Linked DNA regions of Homo sapiens: regions 1 and 2 are each linked to region 3. The links are contacts of gene promoters, found by promoter capture Hi-C in human tissues and cell types (Jung and others, 2019). All regions are on one chromosome and are shown on one strand. The core of a region is centred on a gene start or on the middle of the fragment in contact, and the rest is flanking DNA. Distances in the headings are between cores, read along the strand shown. Region 1 overlaps LOC124904713 (a long non-coding RNA gene). Region 2 holds the start of SIRT2 (sirtuin 2). Region 3 holds the start of LGALS4 (galectin 4).

Evidence for each region. Contacts are between HindIII fragments. The study calls those that stand out against the background at their distance.
Region 1: a fragment that was not itself captured here is called in contact with the fragment with the promoter of LGALS4 in region 3 in 5 of the 25 tissues and cell types used here (dorsolateral prefrontal cortex, lymphoblastoid cells, mesenchymal stem cells and 2 more).
Region 2: the fragment with the promoter of SIRT2 here is called in contact with the fragment with the promoter of LGALS4 in region 3 in 3 of the 25 tissues and cell types used here (aorta, liver and spleen).

The regions. Positions count from the first base shown.
Region 1 is chr19:38,935,785-38,938,484 of GRCh38, reverse strand. LOC124904713 (a long non-coding RNA gene) reads left to right here. Exons shown (of 2, transcript XR_007067253.1): 2 at 1,633-2,700. Among named protein-coding and RNA genes, the nearest start is that of MRPS12, 6.2 kb to the right of the region's middle. The HindIII fragment of the contact is 4,061 bases long and covers 1-2,700 here.
Region 2 is chr19:38,898,210-38,900,909 of GRCh38, reverse strand. SIRT2 (sirtuin 2) reads left to right here and starts at 1,292. Exons shown (of 16, transcript NM_012237.4): 1 at 1,292-1,404; 2 at 2,485-2,531. The coding sequence starts at 1,389. It overlaps NFKBIB (NFKB inhibitor beta), which reads right to left and starts at 941. Exons shown (of 6, transcript NM_002503.5): 1 at 699-941. The coding sequence starts at 877. The HindIII fragment of the contact is 18,718 bases long and covers 1-2,700 here.
Region 3 is chr19:38,811,695-38,814,394 of GRCh38, reverse strand. LGALS4 (galectin 4) reads left to right here and starts at 1,450. Exons shown (of 10, transcript NM_006149.4): 1 at 1,450-1,553; 2 at 1,876-1,964. The coding sequence starts at 1,509. The HindIII fragment of the contact is 29,723 bases long and covers 1-2,700 here.

The DNA of each region.
Region 1 (2,700 bases), core at 91-2,590, 120 kb before region 3:
GGCAAGCAATTGAACCTACTCGTTAAAAGTTTTCACAGTGTTACATTATTCATTATATGGATGATATACTTTGTGCTGCCCCCACTCGAGAAGTATTACTCCAATGTTATGATCACTTACAAAATTCGATTTCTTGCGCTGGTTTAATTATAGCTCCTGACAAAATTCAGACTACTACTCCTTACTCCTACTTGGGGACCTTAGTAAATGACACTACCATTGTGCCACAGAAAGCAACCATACATAGGAATCAATTGAAAACATTAAAGGACTTTCAAAAATTACTAGGGGACATTAATTGGATACGACCTGCTCTAGGCATTCCTACCTATGCCATGAGTAATCTATTTTCTATCCTTAGAGGAGATCCTGGTCTCACAAGCCCTCGGTAATTAACAAGAGAAGCTGAGGCAGAGCTGCGGCTAATCGAAAAGCAAGTCCATAAAGCTCAAATAAATAGATTAGATCCAGAGAAGACTCTAGATTTGCTAATTTTTCCAACTCAGCATTCACCTACTGGTGTTATTGTTCAAGAGTGAGATCTTGTAGAGTGGCTTTTTCTTCCACATACTAATTCACGGACTCTAACTCCTTATTTGGATCAAATTGCTACTATGATAGGAAATGGGAGAACTCGGATTGTTAAATTACATGGATATGATCCTGGAAAAATTATTATCCCTCTCACAAAGGCACAAATACAGCAAGCTTTTATAAATAGTCTTACTTGGCAAACCAATTAAGCTGACTTTGTGGGTATTCTCGATAACCATTTTCCTAAACAAAACTGTTTTAATTTTTGAAATTAACTAATTGGATTCTCCCTAAAATAACTAAATTTAAACCAATTGAAGGTGCTGAAAATGTTTTTACAGATGGGTCTAGTAATGGTAAAGCTTCTTATTCTGGCTCAAAAAGTAAAGTTTTTCAGATGCCCTATACTTCAGCTCAAAAAGTGGAGCCTGTAGCTGTAATTGAGGTAGTGACTGCTTTTCATATGCCTATTAATGTGATTTCTGACTCTTCATACGTGATTCATTCCACACAATTAACTGAAAATGCTCAGTTACAATTTCCTGCAGATGAACAACTGATGATTTTATTTACCCAACTGCAAACAGCAGTTAGGAGTAGAATGCACCCTTTTTACATCACTCACATTAGGGCTCATACACCTCTTCCAGGCGTCACCTTTTGCAGTGTTTTGCAGTGATGGGCATTCCAGCTTCTATTAAAACAGATAAAGCCCCAGGCTACACTAGCCGAGCTCTAGCTACATTTTTCTCTATACGGAATATTAAACACATTACTGGTATCCCATATAATTCTCAAGGACAAGCCATAGTGGAAAGAATGAATCTCTCCCTGAAACAGCAGTTGCAAAAGCAAAAAAAAGGGGGGAAAACAAGGACTACGGGACACCCCATATGCAACTGAATCTAGCATTGTTAACTTTAAATTTTTTGAGCCTGCCTAAAGGCCAGATCCTATCAGTAGCTGAACAGCATCTACAGAAACCAGCTGCAAAGACAGAAGCAGAACAACTAGTTTGGTGGAGAGATCCAATAACAAAAAGTTAGGAAATAGGTAAAATAATAACTTGGGGTAGAGGTTATGCTTGTGTTTCTCCAGGACTGACTCAACAGCCGATTTGGATACCATCAAGACACCTGAAACCTTATCATGAGCCAGATGCTGAGGAAGAGATTCCGGGAGGAAACTGAGGACCCCCCCCACCCCCGGTTGCAGCCATGTCGAGACTGACGCTGAGGAAGACCCCAACTGTCACGAGCAACACCTGTCAAACACAGCCACCCACCTGGAGACAGATCAAGAAGCTGTCACAGATGGTGGAAGAAAACCTGAGGAAAGTGGGACAACCAGTCGCAATGAGTAATTTAATGGTAGCTATGATAGCGATGATCACCACTGCCATGAGTATTCCTTCAATAAGGGCTGACACAGAGGACAATTATACTTATTGGGCATATTTATCAATCTTGGCTGGCAATAATGCCTGGATGTAATCACTCTATGACACAGTTATACAAGCTTTCTGATCTCATAATAAATCTGCTCCTATAATTGAGGCATACTGCCCTCAAAAACATATTTGTAAACAGGATTGGACCCAGTTAGCAAAAATGAACGTACTTGTTTAGGAAGATTGCTTTGCAGAACAGGCAGAGGTGCTGCACAACAATTCCTATGGAATCATTATTAATTGGTCACCTATGGGGATGTTTAGCTTGAACTGCACCTCTCAGTCTGCATGCCATGGCCACACTGTGATCAGCTCATCTGAACAAAATGGTCAGATGATAGAAATGGTAAGAAATACAGCAAGAGTTCCTATTATCTGGAACCATGGCAGTATAGTGGCACCTCAGCCTCAAATGATATGGCCTGCTCTAGGAGCTAAACATAAGCATTTGTGGAAACTGTTAATAGCTCTTAATAAAATCAAAATTTGGGAAAGAATAAAAAAGCATCTAGAAGGCCACTCTACAAACTTGTATTTGGATATTGCAAAATTGAAAGAACAAATATTTAAAGTATCCCAGGCACACGTGAACTTAATGCCAGGAACTGGAGTGCTTGAAGGAGCTGCAGACAGATTAGCAGCTAGTAACCCATTCAAATGGATAAAAACACTTGGAGGCTCTGTGATTTCAATGATGATTGTGCTTTTACTCTGTG
Region 2 (2,700 bases), core at 43-2,542, 87 kb before region 3:
TGTGGTCTTATCAATCTGTTTATTTAGCTCCACTAAAATGTATGCTCCACAAGGGCTTAAGTTTTTGTTTGTTTTCTTCACTGCCTTTATCACTAGCACCTAAACGGAGCCTGGAACGTGGTAATGTGTAAAGAATATTTGTTTAACAGATGAATCCTTGGTCTCATGGAGCTAACATTCTTTTTTTTAATTTTCCTATTTTTTTACTTTAATTAGGAATTCAACATAGAAGAGCTTACATTCTCTCTCTTTGAATTTAAGATTTGAAGAACACTGCTCAGAAGACAGGATCTTAGAGTCAGGGACCAAGTATTAATTTCGGAAATCAAACTCTAGGGCTCAAATCGGGAACTAAGAATCAAAGATCATATTTGGAGGTTAGAAGTCAGGAGAAGCCACAGTTCTAACAGAAGTCTCAGGACTGGAGTCAGGTTTGGGTATCAGTGGATACAATGTGGATTCCAGGAGCTGAGAATCATAGTTCAAGAAAAGAAGGTAAGAAATGATTGGGTTAGGATCATAGCTAGATAGAAGATTGGTTTTGTTAAAAGTTAGGACTCGGGGGTTAGAGGTCAGGAAGTTCAGCATCGGAAGTCAGATTTAGGAGTATGAGGTTAGGAAGCCTCAGGGATCAGAGATTAATGAGGAATGTGACGCCGGGTCCTAGGGCTCCGTTTGGCAGCCTAAGGTTCACTCACGTGTCCCCATCCTCAGTGACGTAGCCGAAGACGAGGGGAGCCCACGACAGCCCCGGGCCCAACTCCGCGCCCAACCCAGGTCCTCCGGGGGCCGCTGCGTCCGGACCCAGGGAGCCCAGGCCGCTGTCGCACCATTCATCTGCGTCGGCAGCTTTTCCCAAGCACGCGACCCCAGCCATGGCCCCCGCCGCCTCAGGGGCCCCCCGCAGTCGCCCGCCTGTAGCTGGGCTTTGCCGGGAGTTCTGGAGCTTCCGCCCTGCGGGAAATTCCCCACCACGCCCCCTGATTCACCCAATGATAATATGCTGAATCGCTCACACCCCGCCCTCGTACTGCATCCTGACCAATCAGAGTATTCGGGAGGACTACAACTCTCTAGCCGTTCCCACATTTTCCGGGCGCCCTTTACCAACATGGCTGCTGACGCCACGCCTTCTGGGACTCGTAGTCCGGTCCTCGCGCGCTTTCTTACCTAACTGGGGCGCTCTGGGTGTTGTACGAAAGCGCGTCTGCGGCCGCAATGTCTGCTGAGAGTTGTAGTTCTGTGCCCTATCACGGCCACTCCCATTTCTGGTGCCGTCACGGGACAGAGCAGTCGGTGACAGGACAGAGCAGTCGGTGACGGGACACAGTGGTTGGTGACGGGACAGAGCGGTCGGTGACAGCCTCAAGGGCTTCAGCACCGCGCCCATGGCAGAGCCAGACCGTGAGTCGGGGATCCGGGTAGGAGGGTCGGGCCGCGCCGGGGCCTGGCTGAATGCTGCAGGCCCCGGGGCCCAAGGGTGGCCGCGGTGGGGCGGGAAGTAGGGAGCGCTTCGGGGAGTGGGATTCTGAGGGCTGTTGCTTAGCGATCTGTATCGCTAGGCTGGTGGGTTTCTGGGTCGCAGTGTGTTCAGGGTTCGTTTACCACATCCACTTGCCAAGTTGCCAATGATCGCGTGTTTCTCGCACCTTGGTTGCTAAGGTCCCTCGCTGCAAAGAACATAAGTTGCCCCGGTCCCGCTTGCTATGGGTACCTGATTGTTAGAGGCAACCAGAGGATGCTGAGGGACCCCTGCTGACCCCTCCTATGGCTTCCCCTTGTTCCGCGCCTCTCCTAAACCTACCGCCTCCACTGCACCACTGCACCTCCCTCCTAAACCTGCCTCCCAGCCAAAGCGTCTCTTCCCTTCTCTTTTCCTTTCTAAACTTCCCTCTGCCTTGTAAATCTAACCCTCCCCGCACACACACTCACACACTGTCGTGTCCTTCCTAACTCCTCCTGAGTGTTCCTTCATGCCCTGAATCCCCTAGGTAGGAGGAGGAGGATCGCTTGAGCCCAGGAATTTGAGGCTGCAGTGAGCTATGATCGCACTATTGCACTCCAACCTGGGTGACATGAGCGAGACCCTTTCTCTAAAAAGTAAAAAAGAAAGAAAGTAAGTCAGGGCCAGAAACAATGGCTCATGCTTGTAATCCCAGTACTTTGGGAGGCCAAGGTGGTTGGATCGCTTGAGCCCAGGAGTTCAAGACCAGCCTGGGCAAAAGCCCCTACTTTCTCCCTGTCCCCCTAAATCTTCCTCTCCAGCCTCTCTGCCCCTCACTAATCACCTCTCCCGGCATCACTTTGCATGTAGATAAGATCTTTTCTCCGTCCCCTCCCTCCCTCTGCTCCATTTTTACCACCATCCCATCCCAGTGTAACTAGGTTGGTGGGTGTTCTTGCCCCCTCACTGACCATTTGAACCCCTTTATTCCCCCCTTAATCGTTCTCCCCACTGTAACCACCTCTGCTCCCCTCCCCCAGCCTCTCACCCTCTGGAGACCCAGGCAGGGAAGGTGCAGGAGGCTCAGGTGAGATGGGGGAAAGGGTGGAGGGGAGGAGAGAGACGGACTTGTTCCACATCCCACACTGGGGGGAGGTGGCAAAGGGGAAACAGTCACCCCAGGGCCCTCGGCTCATTGCCCCAATCCCTCACACCACCCAGTGCAGCTTTCTGGGGAAAGGCAGATTCTGGGGATT
Region 3 (2,700 bases), core at 201-2,700:
TGTTCTGAGCATTTATTATCTTAATGATCAAGGACTCTATGAAGTTGATACTATTATGATTATTATTATTATGACTATTATTGTTGCTATTTTTAGAGACGGACTCTTAGTCTGTCACCCAGGCTGGAGTGCAGTGGCATGATCATAGCTCACTGTAACCTTAACTCCTGGGTTCAAGCGATCCTCCTGCCTCAGCCTCTGAGTAGCTAGGAATACAGATGTGTGCTACCATGCCCAGCTAATTTTTATTTTATTTTTGTAGAGATGGGGGTCTCACTATGTTGCCCAGGCTGGTCTTGAACTCCTGGGCTCAAGCAGTCCTCCTGCTTCAGCTTCCCAAATTGCTGGGATTGTAGGCACAAGCCACCACACCCAGCCTAAGGTTGATACTACTCTTTTCTTTATTTATTTATTTTTCTGAGTGGCAGTTGGACCCACAGCTAGAACTTATTTGGCAGATTAATAACATACAGGCATTACTGGATCACAAATTCATTTTTAAAATATTTTGATAGCTATTCAATACTTGTTTCCTCTCTTATGAATTCCTTTTTTTTTTTTTTTTTTTTTGAAACAGAGTCTCCATCTGTCATCCAAGCTGGAGTGCAGTGGCGTGACCTTGGCTCACTGCACTCTCCTCCACTCAGGTTCAAGTGATTCTCCTGCCTCAGCCTCCAAGTAGATGGGATTATAGGCACCCACCACCATGCCTGGCTAATTTTTGTATTTTTAGTAGAGACTGGGATTTTGCCAGGCTGGTCTCGAACTCCTGCCCTCAGGTGATCCATCCACCTCGGCCAGTCAAAGTGCTGGGATTACAGGCATGAGCCACTGCACCCAGCCGATACTACTATATCCCCATTTTACAGATGAGCACATGGGCAAATTGAGGGTAAGGCACTGACCCATGATCATACAGCTGAGAAGTGGCAAAGGCAGGATTTGAACCTAGAACCTCTGGCTCCACACACTAGTAATCTAAACCACTCTCCCTACAATACAACATACGTGGTAAAGATGTGTGGTGGGCACGCAATCAACGTAGGTCCCTTCACAGTTGCTGGGAGAGGCAGGAATTTGCAGTTCCTCCGCGTTCTCCTCCTCCGCTGCCCACCTGTCCTGGGTCATTCCTGCAGCCTGCCCTGCCCTGCCTGGTCTCACCCTCCCTCTGCCAACAGAAGTCTGGGCAGGGTTTTATGGGCTCTGATAAGGCCCTGGCAGGGCCGAAGTTCATGAGCACTTCCTCTTTGCAGGAGGGCGTAGGGGAGGGGACCCAGGTGATTTGGGTCCTGGCTGGTCACCAGGGAAGCTGGCAAGGGAAGGGAGACTAGGGTGCGCTCTAGGAGAAGCCGACAGCCTGAGAGTCCCAGAAGAGGAGCCCTGTGGACCCTCCCCTGCCAGCCACTCCCTTACCCTGGGTATAAGAGCCACCACCGCCTGCCATCCGCCACCATCTCCCACTCCTGCAGCTCTTCTCACAGGACCAGCCACTAGCGCAGCCTCGAGCGATGGCCTATGTCCCCGCACCGGGCTACCAGCCCACCTACAACCCGGTGAGATGCCAGCTCAGGCCCCACTCCGCCCGCAGCTCCGTCCATAAGCCCTCACACCAATTTTCCCCACTCTGATCCTGGGGGGCCCCATCTGACTCTGTGGTCTGATTTACCCAAAGCTGACCCCGACCCTCGATTTACTCCTACCCTGACCTCAGGCTGTCTGTGTCCACGTCTAACTGTTGGCCCTCGTCATCTTCAACCTGGTCCTCCCCCATGGTTTCCTCTCTCCTGCTTAAGGGACTGGGGGGCTTTTCTGGGAGGGGTAAAGGCTGCAACAGGCAGATGGCTTGTGAGTCCCCTCACCAGGCCTCTTCTCCAGACGCTGCCTTACTACCAGCCCATCCCGGGCGGGCTCAACGTGGGAATGTCTGTTTACATCCAAGGAGTGGCCAGCGAGCACATGAAGCGGTAAGACCCTCCCCAAGCCAGGCCGGGCTGGCAGGGGACTTCCAACTGGGTGCTCTGGGCCTGGCTGTTGGGGGCTTTCTGCCCTTACCCCACCCTGGTGGAGAGGGGACTCTTTTTCTGCCCCACCCAATAGCCAGAGATGAATCTGGGGCAGATCAGGAGTGGGGACGTGGGGGCCAGAAGGTTCAGGGAGGGCTCACCGTGAGAGGCAGTCCCTGAGTTGGACATTAGACTGAAGCTGATGGGTGCAATGGCAGGAATTCAGATCACAGGCTCAGAGCCGGGTCCCCGAGTTAAAATCCCAGCTCTGCCACTCCCCAGCTCTGTGTTGGTGAAAGAGTGAAAGTGACTATACCTCTCTGTGCTTCATTTTCTTTTCTTTTCTGTTTTTGTTTTTTTTGTTTTTTTTTTTGTTTTGAGATGGAGTTTTGCTCTTGTCGCCCAGGCTGGAGTGCAATGGCATGATCTTGGCTCACTGCAACCTCTGTCTCCCAGGTTCAAGCGATTCTCCTGCCTCAGCCTCTTGAGTAGCTGGGATTACAGGCATGTGCCAGCACACTGGCTAATTTTTGTATTTTTAGTAGAGATGGGGTTTCACCATGTTGGTCAGGCTGGTCTCGAACTCCTGACCTCAAGTGATCCTCCCATCTCGGCCTCCCAAAGTGCTGGGATTACAGGCGTGAGCCACTGCGCCTGGCCCAGTCTTAGCTTTTTAAAAAGGGCCTTAACACGTTGA